Linked DNA regions of Homo sapiens: region 1 is linked to region 2. Evidence: promoter capture Hi-C in human tissues and cell types (Jung and others, 2019). All regions are on one chromosome and are shown on one strand. Each heading gives the region's core, a stretch centred on a gene start or on the middle of the fragment in contact. The rest is flanking DNA. Distances are from core to core; before and after follow the strand shown.

Evidence for each region. Contacts are between HindIII fragments. The study calls those that stand out against the background at their distance.
Region 1: the fragment with the promoter of THEM5 here is called in contact with the fragment with the promoter of MRPL9 in region 2 in 1 of the 25 tissues and cell types used here (small bowel).

What each region holds. Positions count from the first base shown.
Region 1 is chr1:151,850,210-151,857,033 of GRCh38, reverse strand. It overlaps THEM5 (thioesterase superfamily member 5), which reads left to right and starts at 3,322. Exons shown (of 6, transcript NM_182578.4): 1 at 3,322-3,591; 2 at 4,575-4,776; 3 at 5,843-5,981. The coding sequence starts at 3,469. C2CD4D-AS1 (C2CD4D and THEM5 antisense RNA 1) reads right to left here. Exons shown (of 4, transcript NR_152846.1): 4 at 5,499-6,801. The HindIII fragment of the contact is 11,981 bases long and covers 1-6,824 here.
Region 2 is chr1:151,759,129-151,766,461 of GRCh38, reverse strand. It overlaps MRPL9 (mitochondrial ribosomal protein L9), which reads left to right and starts at 2,966. Exons shown (of 7, transcript NM_031420.4): 1 at 2,966-3,135; 2 at 3,316-3,472; 3 at 3,962-4,086; 4 at 4,307-4,357; 5 at 4,910-5,011; 6 at 5,563-5,646; 7 at 6,281-6,815. The coding sequence starts at 2,983. The coding sequence ends at 6,412. It also overlaps a transcript of OAZ3 not described here. RefSeq lists an enhancer at 2,816-3,195. The HindIII fragment of the contact is 13,976 bases long and covers 1-7,333 here.

The DNA.
Region 1 (6,824 bases), core at 2,073-4,572, 90 kb before region 2:
GATCCTCCCACCTCAGCCTCCCAAAGTGCTGGACTTACAGGCATGAGCCACTGCACCCAGCCACCTACTGACTCTTTATATTTTCTGAGACAGAGTTTCACTCTTGCTGCCCAGGCTGGAGTGCAATGGCGCAATCTCAGCTCACCACAATATCCGCCTCCTGGCTTCAAACGATTCTCCTGCCTCAGCCTCCCAAGTAGCTAGGATTACAGGCATGCGCCACCATGCCCGGCTAATTCTGTATTTTTAGTAGAGATGAGGTTTCTCCATGTTGGTCAGGCTAGTCTTGATCTCCCAACCTCAGGTGATCCACCCGCCTTGGCCTCCCAAAGTGCTGGGATTATAGGCGTGAGCCACCGCGCCTGGCCCTACTGACTCTTCTTAGGAGGACAGCTCTTTCCTCCTGGGGCCACCTTGCTGGAACCAGCTTCCAGCTGTCAGGGCCGCCTGAGGATCCCCTCTTGCTCCCCACTCACCTTTCCTCTGACTTCTCTCCAGTTCACCTATCCTTCCTAGGATTTTTCTTTTCTATCCTGTCTTCTCAAGTCCATCCTTCCAGATCAAGGATGGACCCAGGGAATGAAGGGATGCCAAGTGCCAGGGGACGCCTGGGCAAGCCACAGGCACAGGGTACCAGCTACAGCTATTGTGGTAAACTCAGGACCAGAGAGACAGATATGGAAAAACAGGACGATGTTTATTTTAAGGTAGGCATTGGCTCAGTGGATTCACATCCAAAAAGCTGAGCATTGAACAAAGACTGAGCAGGATTTTTATAAGCAGGCTTACAGAAGCAAAACAGGCAGTTAATCATATAATGACAGGTCACATAATCTATAGCATAACTGATGACTTGGCATAACTTGTGGCTTTGCATAGCTGGTGGCCTTGTAGCTGCGTGGAAAGAAAAAACAAGAACTGGCTAAATACAGACAGACATTTGTCCTTTTTTTTTTTTCCTTCACCCTTGCTCCAGACGGGGGATGTCTGGAGCCTATTCCTTTGGTTTCGACTTCTCGAAGAGCATTATCTTATAATTGTCTTTGAAGTGAGCTTGCTAGGCAGAGAAAAACTTGCTCTTCCTTTCTTTTTAACCTTTGCCTTGCCACATTCTGGGCCTTGGCTTTTACTTCTCAGACTAGGTCACTATGACCTTCTTATAGCCTTGTCTGTTACTTTTCTTGGAGTGAATGAATGTAGTACTTACTATCTTTTTTTAATTTCTGCCTCACAGCAACGGCTGCGGCCCAGGGCTGAAAATGAGTGCTGCCAGATATTCTCACTTATCTGGGGATGGCAACCAACTCAAATATCTTTGCTTAGACCCAGAGGCTGAATCAACCAAAAAAACTTCCAGCTGGGCGTGGTGCCTCATGCCTGTAATCCCAGCACTTTGGGACGCTGAGGCAGGCAGATCAGCCAAGGCCAGGAGTTTGAGACCAGCCTGGCCAACATGATGAAACCCCGTCTCTACTAAAAATATAAAAACTAGCCGGGCGTAGTAGCAAGCGCCTGTAATCCCAGCTACTTGGGAGGCTGAGGCAGGAGAATTGCTTGAGCCTGGGAGGCAGAGGTTGCAGTGAGCCGAGATGGTGCCACTGCACTCCTGGGCAATAAGAGTGAGACTCTGACAAAATAACAACAACAAAAAAAAATGGTTCCCCCAGTCCTTGAGGAAGTTTAATTCAAACCTTTGCAGGAGGTGAGGGGAAATATTTATATTCTAGTCTTCTTCTAGGGCAACCAAATACAGAGGGTGAACCAAATCTTTTAAATTTCCGCATTAAATCAGTTTCATCTTTTGGAACCTGCCAAAATGTCATAATCATCACAACTATTATTATCGTCATCATCACTGTTATGATTCCACCTTTGCACAGTTCTGATTTTTTTTTTTTTAAGACAAGGTCTCACTCGGCCTCCCAAAATGCTGAGATTACAGCCTTGAGCCACTGCGCGAGGACTGATCTTTAGAACATGCTTTTATTTTAGTCAATTTAAAACTGAGACTTTTAATTGAAAATTGGCAGTTTAAATTCAATAGAAGACACACCACCACCAAATCCCACTGCCTTGCAGATGTTGGCTGAGTGTCCCTTCCCACTCAACAAAGCCTCACTGCCGCGCCCACCTCACTCCCAGCACTGCCTGCTGACATGAGCCACTCCCTGGGCACGGGGTTCCCAAAACATGAGAGTATCCCTGCCAAGCTGTTTCCTCCCAAATTATTTTCTGCCCTCCCTGTCAAGCCCTCCCCCACCTCCAACTCCTATCCCCAGCCAGAGACCAGCAGGTGAAACTCTCCTGTGCTAACCCTTGTCCGGGATATAAGAAGAGGTGTTGGCCGGGTGCGGTGGCTCACGCCTGTAATCCCAGCACTTTGGGAGGTCACCTGAGGTCAGGAGTTCAAGACCAGCCTGGCTAACATGGCAAAACCCCATCTCTACTAAAAAAAATATACAAAATTTAGCTGGGTGTGGTGGTGTGTGTCTGTAATCCCAGCTACTCAGGAGGCTGAGGCAGGAGAATCACTTGAACCCAGGAGGCGGAGGTTGCAGTGAGCCGAGATCACGCCATTGCACACCAGCCTGGGCGACAAGATTGAAACTCCGTCTCACCAAAAAAAAAAAAAAAAAAAAAAAAGAGGTGTCTAAGGCTGTGAGTTGGTTTTCTTTTTTTTTATTTTTTTATTTTTATTTTTTTGAGACGGAGTCTCGCTCAGTCGCCCAGGCTGGAGTGCGGTGGCTAGATCTCAGCTCACTGCAAGCTCCACCTCCCAGGTTCACGCCATTCTCCTGCCTCAGCCCCCTGCGTAGCTGGGACTACCGGCACCCGCCACCACGCCCGGCTAATTTTTTGTATTTTTTTTAGTAGAGACGGGGTTTCACCGTGTTAGCCAGGATGGTCTCGATCTCCTAACCTCGTAATCCGCCGCCTCGGCCTCCCAAAGTGCTGGGATTACAGGCGTGAGCCACCGCACCCGGCCTGTGAGTTGGTTTTCTGAGTCACAAAATCATACCAGAGTTTTCAGAGTCCGGTATACACTGCAGAGCACATACCAAGAACACTCCACCAGCACCCTCCAATCAAGGGACAGGCTTCCCTTATCCTTCTGGAAATATTCTTGGATTCTCCCTCAGAACCCCCAGGCAGCTCTCCAAGGCTCTATATACCCCATACTATTTGTTTATGTACTTGTTTACTCCTTTTGCAACTCAAGCCAGTCCTGCTGCCTTTTCATGCCCAAGCAGCATCTGTCCCTCCCCAAGCACTGGGTGGGGCTCCTAGACCAGCTAAAGGCGCCGAGCATCTGTGGGTGTTGCAGCACACCAGCCCAGCCTCGCCTAGCTCTCTGAAAGAAAGCCTGCAACAGAAGGGAGAGAAGCGGCCCCAAGTGCAGCTGAAAGCACTCCTTGGGAGTCAGCCAAGACCCTCCATCCAAGCAGGGCTGGATCCTTGCACTTGGCCATGATAAGGAGATGCTTCCAGGTGGCAGCAAGACTTGGCCACCACAGAGGCCTTCTTGAGGCCCCCCGTATCCTGCCCAGACTCAACCCTGCCTCAGCATTTGGATCCTCCACAGACTCCATGGTGAGTTCCCAGCTCAGCCAGATGGGCAGTGTTTTCCCAGGAGCCTAGGGCTTAAGGAGCACCCCAAATCTCCTCTTCCCAGCCCATGGCCAGGGCAGGTGGGCAGTGTTCGGAGGAGCTATTTGATTTGGCAAAGAGAAAGTGCTCTGGGATACCAAGTTGCCCCCATTCAAAACTAAAACTACCAGGAGACCTGCATCTGGCTCTGTGTCTTGTGTGGCCACCAACAAATGACTTTCCTCCTGTGGGACTCAGACTACTGCAGCAAAGCTGGGGTATCCCCAGACAGAGGACCCCATCTGTGGCATTGGCAAGCAGCTCACATGCTGTCTACAGTTGTGACTGGTGTATGAGCAGGTGACGCTACAGAGGACTTCCTTACGTCACACAGATGGGCACATAGTCTGTGCCCCAGCCATGGCACCACACCTCTGTGGGGGCCCAAATGTGTTTCAAAGGAGCCACCCTGCCCAGGCAGGCCCACAGCAGTGGGCAGAGCTGGAGTAGCCCCTGAGGTGGGGGTTGCTAGAATGGTCCTCAACAACTGTGACCCTGCCCTGCAGAGGAGACAGCATCTAGTGCGACCACCAGCTCTCACAGTCACATGCTTGGCAACCTTGGCCGTATTCCCTCAGTTTCCCCATCTGTACAGTGAGGCTAATATGAGCAGTTGTCAACTTTAAAGAACTGCTCACATGTTTTAAGCAGAACAAGGGTAAGGCACCACATCGAGCAGCATGCCCATCATCTCTGGCCCCACTCCCTGCCCGCCCTTCCCTTGCTCTTTAGCATCCTTATGCCCCGTCACCCATAGGGGTCCGCAGCCCCCCTGCAAGGAATATGGGCCCTTTCCCTTGGATCGATACTCTGGCAGAAGGGATTGAGAAGCCCCAGCACCCAGGAACAGCTGTTTAGAGGTCCCGAGCCCAGGCAGCAGCCCCCCTCCAGGATGCTGTCTAGTCATTCTGATTTTTCCTGCCCAGTTCTCAAGATTCTTGCCAGAGAAGACAGACTTGAAGGATTATGCTCTTCCCAATGCCAGCTGGTGTTCGGACATGCTGAGCCTGTACCAAGAATTTCTGGAGAAGACTAAGTCTAGCGGCTGGATCAAGCTGCCCTCCTTCAAGTCCAACAGAGACCACATCCGGGGACTCAAGCTCCCATCTGGACTGGCAGTTTCCTCAGGTAAGGACAGGACCATGAGTACACACACCCCAGCCGCCCTTCCCTGTGTTCTAAGACTGAGAAGCAACTTCACAGACCGCCTTCCAGTTCTCAGCGAGTTCTTCCTGCTGTCCAACTCCACCCCTGATGCTGCAGCCCCAGGCAACAGGCGGCGGGTGTCCTCTCAGGTCTCCAGCTCCCCTCCTCCCATCTGAAGCAGCACACCCTGGTGGGCCCACCTTCGCTCCCAGCCAAGCATGTCCCCACTGGAGGACAGCCAGCCCAGCTCCTGCCCCGACTTCTCACTGACTGCCCCTCCCTAACTATCAAGCCTCATCCCAAGCCTTCCGCCCCAACCCCATGAAAGCCCTTGGACCCCACACCCCTTCCACTGAGGCCCTGCACATCATCCCTGCTGTGCGGGGTCTGGAGCAGCACTCCTGAAACACCTAATGATCCTAATGGATCCTAATGATAGAGCTTCCACCTTCTTGTGTGTGTGTGTGCACTCGTGTGTGCACGCATGTGTATCTCCCTGTCTCTCTCACTCATATATGTTGTCTTCCTGCCTAGTGATGAAGGAGTGGTACAGGGGACAGACTACCCTTGGGTTTATGGCACAAACAAAGCAGGAATACCAACATAATTTTTTTTCAAAGAATTTGATACTTCCAAAAAAGGATGTAGTAGTGGTAGCTGTCTTGGAAAAAAAAAATCAGAACTTTGATGGACTTTTCTGCTCTTATTTTACTGTTTACTATTATTCTTTTGAATTATATGTGAGTTACATGAGTAATTACATTTTCAATTTTCAATGCTTATGGTCTCTTAAAGTCTTGCCCTGGCCCTGATCCTATCTCCATTCTCAGCCAGGGCACTTCCTGCATGTTTCTGCCCTAGACAGAAAGGCTCTGTGAGGACAGCAACTGTGCCTCTGCTCCCAGAGGGAAGGCTCCCTGGGGGTGGACCTGGTGTCCTCTGGTTTTCTCTCCTTAATCTTGTACCAGAGGCAAGACTCAACCAAATGGTGCTGCATCCTGACCATACCCTCCCTTCTCCGGCTGCAACACTGCCTATCTCTCCCCAGACAAAGGTGACTGTCGCATCTTCACCAGGTGCATCCAAGTGGAAGGACAAGGCTTTGAGTATGTCATCTTTTTCCAGCCAACCCAGAAGAAGTCGGTCTGTCTTTTCCAACCAGGCTCCTACCTGGAGGGGCCCCCAGGGTAAGGTCACTGGTAGGACCTTGGCTGCCTCCTGGGCTTGGCTCAGCAGGGCAGGTTCAGCACCCACCAGGCTGGCCCTGGAGTCTCTATCTTTCTCTAAGGGGTGAGGAAGGGAGTGTGGGGCACTAGGCTTCAGCCTCACAATACCAGGCCTGGAAGGACACACAGGGTTATCTGGCCTAATCCCCAGTGTGCAGATATGGGCTTCTCATCAAAGTCTCAAAATTTTCTGGACAAAAGACCTGAGAGGCCACTTTGAGAAGAATGTGGTACACTTGGAAGAGGGCAAGATCCGGAATCTAGACTCTGACTTGGTGTCCTGCCTGGCTGCTGCTGGCTGTGGGACTCTGAGCAAGCAATTGACCCCTGGTCTTTAGTCTTCTTACCTGAAACCTGGGGCAATAATATCTACCTGCCAGGGTGACCAGAGATATGATATTATGGGCCTATGTGTGCGTGCTCATGAACCGTAAAGCACAGTACAGCTATCAGACACTTCTACCCAAAACCCATGTTCTATCCATGGGGAAATGGAGATGCACACAGCTAAAGTAACTTGCCCGAGGCAGCACCAGCAATCAAAGTCAGATCCAGGACTCTAATCTGGGAGGTGAGATTCCAAGTCCACTGTTCTCTCCACTCTACTCTGCTGCCTCCAGACTTGGAACAGACCTCAGGAGGAATGCACACTGGGCATAAATGTGTCCACAAGGGAAATCAGGCTGACCGTGGGTCACCAAGTTCATGGTTGTCCCCCTTCTCTTCCATCCGGATGCCTGCTCCAGACAGTCACTGAAGGCTGGAGGTGGTGCTGGAGCTCCTGCAAGGGAGAGACAAGAGAGG
Region 2 (7,333 bases), core at 1,717-4,216:
GCCCTGCCTGAGCACTTGTGCCCACCCACCCTGCTCCTCTGTGGACACTCCCCTTCCCCCAAAATCCAGCAAGTAAAGAGTTGGTATCTGACTCTTCCAAGGCTCTGATCCAGTGGTGACCTGATTAGTTGGTTCCCAGTTCATACCAGTTGAGTATTTTTATTATCATCCCTACCCTTAATAACCCAGGATCCTTGTAGGGTAGGAATTGCAAACTAATTGTCTAGGCCCCTTCAGGGGCCTAGACAGCTTATGGAAATTAGTGGAGTGGCAGGGTAGGGCTGTAGCAAAATAGGAAAGCTCACACGTTATCTAAAGGAAGTCCACACAACTCAATTCCATCCAGTTCCATGCAAGAATGCAGACTTGATGGTGCTGTATCGTATGATTTTTGAACAGAAACTGGAAAGACAGTTTTGTAGTAAATCTCACCAATTTTAAAAAATATCGACTACTGGGCCGGGCACGGTGGCTCACGTCTGTAATCCCAGCGCTTTGGGAGGCCGAGGCGGGCGGATCACGAGGTCAGGAGATCGAGACCATCCTGGCTAACACGATGAAACTCTGTCTGTACTAAAAATACAAAAAATTAGCCGGGCGTGGTGGCAGGCGCCTGTATTCCCAGCTACACGGGAGGCTGAGGCAGGAGAATGGCGTGAACCCAGGAGGCGGAGCTTGCAGTGAGCTGAGATCGTGCCACTGCACTCCAGCCTGGGCAACATAGCGAGACTCCAACTCAAAAAAAAAAAAAAATCAACTACTAAAAAATTGTTGATAAAAAAACAACATTGTAAGCAAAATTTGGTTCTGGGACTGCCACTTTGAGACCTCTGCATATTTATCCATTCAACAAATATTTATTGAGGGTCTACTATTAGCCAGGCACTATTCTAGGTGCTTGAGATGATACATCAGTGAACAAAACAAATCCCTGCCCTATGGAACGTATCTTCTAAAAGTGAGAGGACAAACCTAGAAAATAAACATAGTAAATTGTTTAGTATGTTAGAAGGTAACTGCTATGGGGTGGGGGGAATAGAGCAAGATAAAGGAAGATAAGGAATGTGAAGGGGATGGGTCAGGGTTACAGTAAGAAATAGGGTGATCTCTCACTGAAAAAAACTGACATTTAATTAAACACTTGGAGGATGTGAGGTTGTTAACCAAGCCAGCATCTGAGGATAAGAGCATCCAACGCAAAAGCAGCCAGTGCAAAAGCCCTGAGCAGGAAACGTGCCTGGTGTTTTCAAGAAACAAGGAGGCCACTGTGGGTGGAGCAGTGTAAATTAGAGAGGAGCTAATGGGGTCAGAGTATGTATGGCCTTGTAGACCATCTGATGGCCTTTTTCTTTTACCTTGAGTAAAGGAGGAAGTCATTACAAAGTTTTGGGTGGAAGAATGACATGATCTGACTTATGCTTTAAAAAGATCATTCTGGCTGCTATAAATAAGCTACATAGAATTATAAACTGTAGAGAATTAAGGGATATCTTTTAGGGGACTATTGCAGTAATCCAGGAGAAAGTAGTGTCTTATTCCAAGGTAGAGCATTGGAGGTGGTGACAAGTGGCTGGATTCTGGAAATACAAGTGCTCCTTGACTTAAAATAGGGTTATGTCCTGATAAACCCATCGTATGTTGAAAGTATCATAAGTTGAAAATGCATATAATACACCTACCAAACACCATAGCTTAGCCTAGCCTATCTTAAACATGCTCAGACAACTTATCCGACAGTTGGGTAAAATCATCTAACACAAAGCCTATTTTATAATAAAGTGTTGAATATTTCATGTAACTTATTGATGTCCTACTGAGTGCACATCACTTTCACACCATCACAAACTCAAAAATTGTAAATCCAAGTCAGGGACTATCTGTAATTTAAAGGTAGAACCCACAGGATTTCCTGATGGAGTATGAGAGAAAAGAGTTAGAATGGAAAGAATGGAGTTTCTGTCAACTGAGAGGAAAAAGGCTGCAGATGGGGCAGTTTTGGGGGCGAGGGGGGAATAAATAAATTAGTTTGGGACAGTTAACTTTGAGGTGTCCTTTGGATACGTAAGAGGAAAATGACGAATAAACAGTTGAATATTTGAGACGAGTTTGGGAGATGTCTAGGATGGAACTAGAAATTTGGGAGTCATTGGCTTATAAATGGTATTGTAAGCCACGAGACTGGATGAGATCAACAGTGAGTGTATACTGAGAAGAGTAAAGGTTCAAAAACGGAGTCCCGAGGGCATTCTAAGAAGCGGGGAGAAAAGGAGAAATCAGCAAACGAGACTGAAGAAGACCGGTGTCCAGGAGGCCAAGTAGTGTATTTAGGAGGAAGGAGGACTGGTCAGTATGTTTAAGGGCCAGTCTTTCCATAATCTCTGCCAAATGGACCTTCTTTCATCCAGTTTTTATGGTCTTCTGTCCAGTACTGAGACCCTCCCCAGAGGGAACTGTCGCGGCCTTACCATAGTTGCTTTTTTTTCTACGGTTTACATAGCTTGTGATTTAGAATTCTCCTTTATTAGCTTAAATACTGCAGTATAATGATTAAGGGTCAGGCTCCTCCTGGAGCTGGCAGAGTTTTCCAAGGGATCCCATCCTTTACCACTTTTAGGTAGATTTGAAGTAAGGAAAAGTGAGAGCATCATTCATTCTCCGGTCAGTATCCAGTCATCACAGAACGTTAGAATTAAAAGTTAGCCCAGCAACTGGAGCTACAGCAAAGCCCACACTTTCAAGAGGAAGAGCGTCTTTTCCGGCGTCAGTCCACCTAACACTCATTCCATTATCAGTCAGTAATTCTAGGCGTCCGTCACCTCTGCCAAAAAGCAAAAATAGGCAAGCCGCGGTGCCATCTGTTCCCCGGCCCGCTCCCCATACTTTCGCTCAGCCGTACCGGCGCGCCGCAGGCAGCACTGGCGGGGGCCTTTCCTGCCGCCGACGCCGGGGTCCTCCCTCAGGTCTCATTCTGTGCCTGTGAACATGGCGGCGCCCGTTGTCACGGCCCCGGGCAGAGCTCTGCTGCGGGCGGGCGCTGGACGGCTGCTTCGGGGAGGCGTCCAGGAGCTACTGCGGCCGCGACATGAAGGGAACGCCCCTGACCTGGCCTGCAACTTCAGCCTTTCTCAAAATCGGGTGAGGGCTGAGTCTGGGGTAGGGGGTAGATACGCTCGAGTATTGTTTCTGGAGGCGCACTGGGACCTGGAGGGGGCCGATGTGGGGGTGGCGGGCTTTCCTTGAGGGGCTGGCGGCCGTGGTGGAGGGAGAGGGTGTTCCTTGTGGAGACTAGCTTACCGTCGCTTTCCTGGCCGCCAGGGCACGGTCATCGTGGAGCGCTGGTGGAAGGTACCGCTGGCCGGGGAGGGCCGGAAGCCGCGCCTGCACCGGCGACATCGCGTCTATAAGCTGGTGGAGGACACGAAGCATCGGCCCAAAGAAAACCTGGAGCTCATCCTGACGCAGTCGGTGGAGAGTAAGGCCCGGGCCGAGGCGCTTCCTCTCAGGCTGGTCCGGTTTGGCATCAGCTTTTTCTAGCCCGTCCCCCTCAACTATTTGCCTTGCTTTTTCTTTGTGGAAACAATCCAACTCTATATGTGAGAAGAGGAAGCCATAAAAACTATTGTGATTGTGACACTGGCCTCCAGCATTGAAAATTAAAACATAAAGGCAGCAACATCATTAACAGTGTGTGGGGAGAGGAGCCTGACAATTTGTGCCACAGATACTGAAATCCTCCATGGGACGACAACTCCCTCTATACAGGGGATATTAAATTTATACATCAAGTTCTAAAGAAACTAATTAGCAGTCTCTTAAATCTTGTTCCTAGTGAATATGAATTAGCATTTCTTTTAGGAAAAATAAGCACTGTGAGAAACTAAGAGGTGCTTCTCTTTTTGACATCTTTTCTTTAGGGACTCCTAGATGGTTCTAATTCCCCTGTCTCTGTTCTAATTGACAGATGTTGGAGTCCGGGGTGACCTGGTCTCAGTGAAGAAATCTTTAGGCCGGAATCGACTCCTTCCTCAGGGACTGGCTGTATATGCATCCCCTGAAAACAAGAAGCTGTTTGAAGAGGAGAAATTGGTGAGCTCAAAGGAAGGACAGAGAGACTTGGGGAGATAAAACTTCTTTTCTCTTGCAGCTTCCTTCCCTTTGACATTTAACTTAACTTGAAAATGAAATAGGAACTAGAAGAACAGGAATGCAGAAGCCCAGCCAATGTCCAACATAGGAATAGTTTGATGCTATTTAACATGGGCTCATTTTTCTTTTACTGCTTTTCATCTTTAACTTTCTTTTCTAGCTGAGACAAGAAGGAAAATTAGAGAAGATCCAGACCAAGGCAGGTGAGGCGGTGAGTAGAAACATAAAAAGTGTTTATTTGTCACAAGACTTACCAACCTCACCCTGAGAGTCTCCCTGATTCCCTTGAGGTCTCCTGATTGCAGACCCAAGAGTGGGAGAAAGGGGAAGTGTTGTGGCTGCCCCACAAAACAGGTATGGAGACCTCTTGGGAGATCCCTGATGTGTTGGGTGAAGTGCCTTAAAGTACCAAGGGAGGTCCCAATCTGGGAATCAGGGAACCCATGGAATAGTCTGAGATGAGGGCTCTGCCTTCAAGGATATTTACGTACAAGTTGGAGAGAACATGGACACATGAGAAGATAATCAGTACAGGCACCCGCCACCATGCCCGGCTAACTGTTGTATTTTTGGTAGAGACAGGGTTTCGCCATGTTGGCCAGGCTGGTTTCAAACTCCTGGGCTGAAGTGACCCACTTTGGGAGACCCACCTTGGCCTCCCAAAGTGCTGGGATTACAGGCATGAGCCATCTTGCTTGGCTTGCATACCCTGTGACCCTGACATGTTTCCTCTCCTTTGACTCAAACTCATAATTCCTTTCAGACAGTGAAATTTCTAAAAAGCTGTCGCCTGGAGGTAGGGATGAAGAACAATGTCAAATGGGAGCTGAACCCTGAAATAGTTGCCCGCCACTTCTTTAAGAATGTGAGTGAGTGTTCCCAAAAACCACTCTACCCCTGAGGTGGAAGCTGCCTCTGGAAAGGAGGCCTGGGATTGATCCCTTTGTTAGGAAGGGGTGTGATCATCCAGTTGTAGTTAAGGAAAGTATTCTTGGTTAGTTTGCAGGAATATGGGAAGGAAATGGCTAAGGACTAAGGATGGTCACATAGAATTTGAAGACTGATAGGAAAAGGTGGTGGTTTCCATTTATTTCCTGTCTACCTAGGGAAATGCTGGGGATTTGTGACTCACTGGAGAATTGTTACTTTTGTGGATGAAGTGGTTTTGGCCTCAAGCCCTGTTTCTCTTTGTGAATCTACCTCCCTTTCTGAGAAATCAGAATTGAATTTCTCTACTACCGTCTATGAAGGTGTATGCCCTTCTCTCCCATGGAATCAGCCAGAGTAGACACCCCAGTTTTATTCATCCCTGTGCAGGGAATCCTGTAACCCTCTTTATGAGGTTCCCTAGAGTGGCAGTCATGAAAACAGAGTTCATTTGAGCTGAGATTTTTTTTTTTTTTTTTTTTTTTGCAGCTTGGTGTTGTGGTTGCCCCACATACATTAAAGTTACCAGAAGAGCCTATCACACGGTGGGGCGAGTATTGGTGTGAGGTGACGGTGAGTGTTTTGCATACTTTCTTTTTTCTTTTCTTTCTCCTTTTCCCCCACTTTTTCCTTTTTTTCCTTTCTCTTAAAGACAGGGTTTTGTTTCATTGCCCAGGCTGGATTCAAACTCCTGGGTTCAAGCGATCCTCCCACCTCAGCCTCCCAAGTAGCTAGGACTACAGGCGTTAGCCACCGCACCTAGCACCTACCTCTCCCTTTTTTCTAATTTTTTTTTTTTTTTTTTTTTTTTTGAGCTGGAGTCTCACTCTGTTGCCCAGACTGGAGTGCAGTGGCACGATCTCAGCTCACTGCAACCTCCACCTCCCAGGTTCAAGCGATCCTTCTGCCTCAGTCCCCCTAGTAGCTGGGATTACAGGCACACGCCACCGTGCCTGGCTAATTTTTGTATTTTAGTAGAGACAGGGTTTCCCCATGTTGGCCAGGCTGGTCTCAAACTCCTGACCTCAGGTGATCCACCTGCCTCAGCCTCCCAAAGTGCTGGGATTACAGGCATAAGCCACTGTGCCCAGCCCTAGCTCTCCTTTTTCTGACTGGGAGAAAAGTCAGGGTGAAAAGCTGGGATTAGGTGGTGCTAAATCTTACTTACCTGACTGATCTCTGAGAATTCCCATTGTTTTGTGTGCAGGTAAATGGGCTTGATACTGTGAGAGTGCCTATGTCTGTCGTGAACTTTGAGAAGCCCAAGACCAAAAGATATAAGTACTGGTTAGCCCAGCAAGCTGCCAAGGCTATGGCCCCCACCAGCCCCCAGATCTAAATCTACTCTCCCTCCAAGGCAGCAAAGCAGAATCGGGAGCAGTGGAGCAGAAATGTGCAAGCACCCTGATCTCACTCCCAGCTCTGACCAAATACAGAATTTTAGAGAACATCTGAAGACATCAGACTGCACTGCGTATACATGTTGAATTCTTCATTTTTGCCATCTTTAACTGTCATCACTGGGGCAGGGAAGTCCTGTTCCAGAAGTACCAGGCTGTAGATTTGATAAGCTAGATGCAGTAGACCGAAACCATCCAAAACCTGTTTAGCTTCTTCCTCCATTGGAGTTTATTGGGACAAACAGGAGAGCCAGCCATTGTCTCCAGTACTTGCCTCATTCTCATCATCCAAACTGAACATTTGTATCCCAAGCAGAAATAAAGAGAATATGTTCTTTTTAAGTAAGTGTTGCTTACTGGTCTTGAGTAGATGAGACAGGACATCCAACTGAGATTTCCTTGAGTCACAGAGGTTTGCTGCTAAAAAGGAAAGAAGAGAATATCTTAGACTGCATCCCACAGTTACTGTGGTATGAACAAATTGTGCTGAACAAGTTGATGATGTGTTTGGTCTTAACACTTACTCTTCTTAGATACATTGATGTAGTCATCAATGTGAATAAGCACAATGGATTCTGCTTCTCTAAGACCTGAGTAAGGCCTAAGGGTAATTGTTGGAAAGCTGGGATGAAAGAAGCTTAAAAAGGGAACTTTTTTCCTTGAACCAGCTCCTGAAATTCTGAAAAAGAAGTTACCTTAATTTTCTAGACCAAGATTAAGATAGGGAGCTAGTCAAAAGGTAACTCTGGAATGGATGAATGGATGTCTTGATGGGAGATAAACGAAAGTAGATAGTTTTTTCCTTTTTCTTTTTCTTTTTTTTTTTTTTTTTTGAGACAGAGTCTTGCTCTGTCACCCAG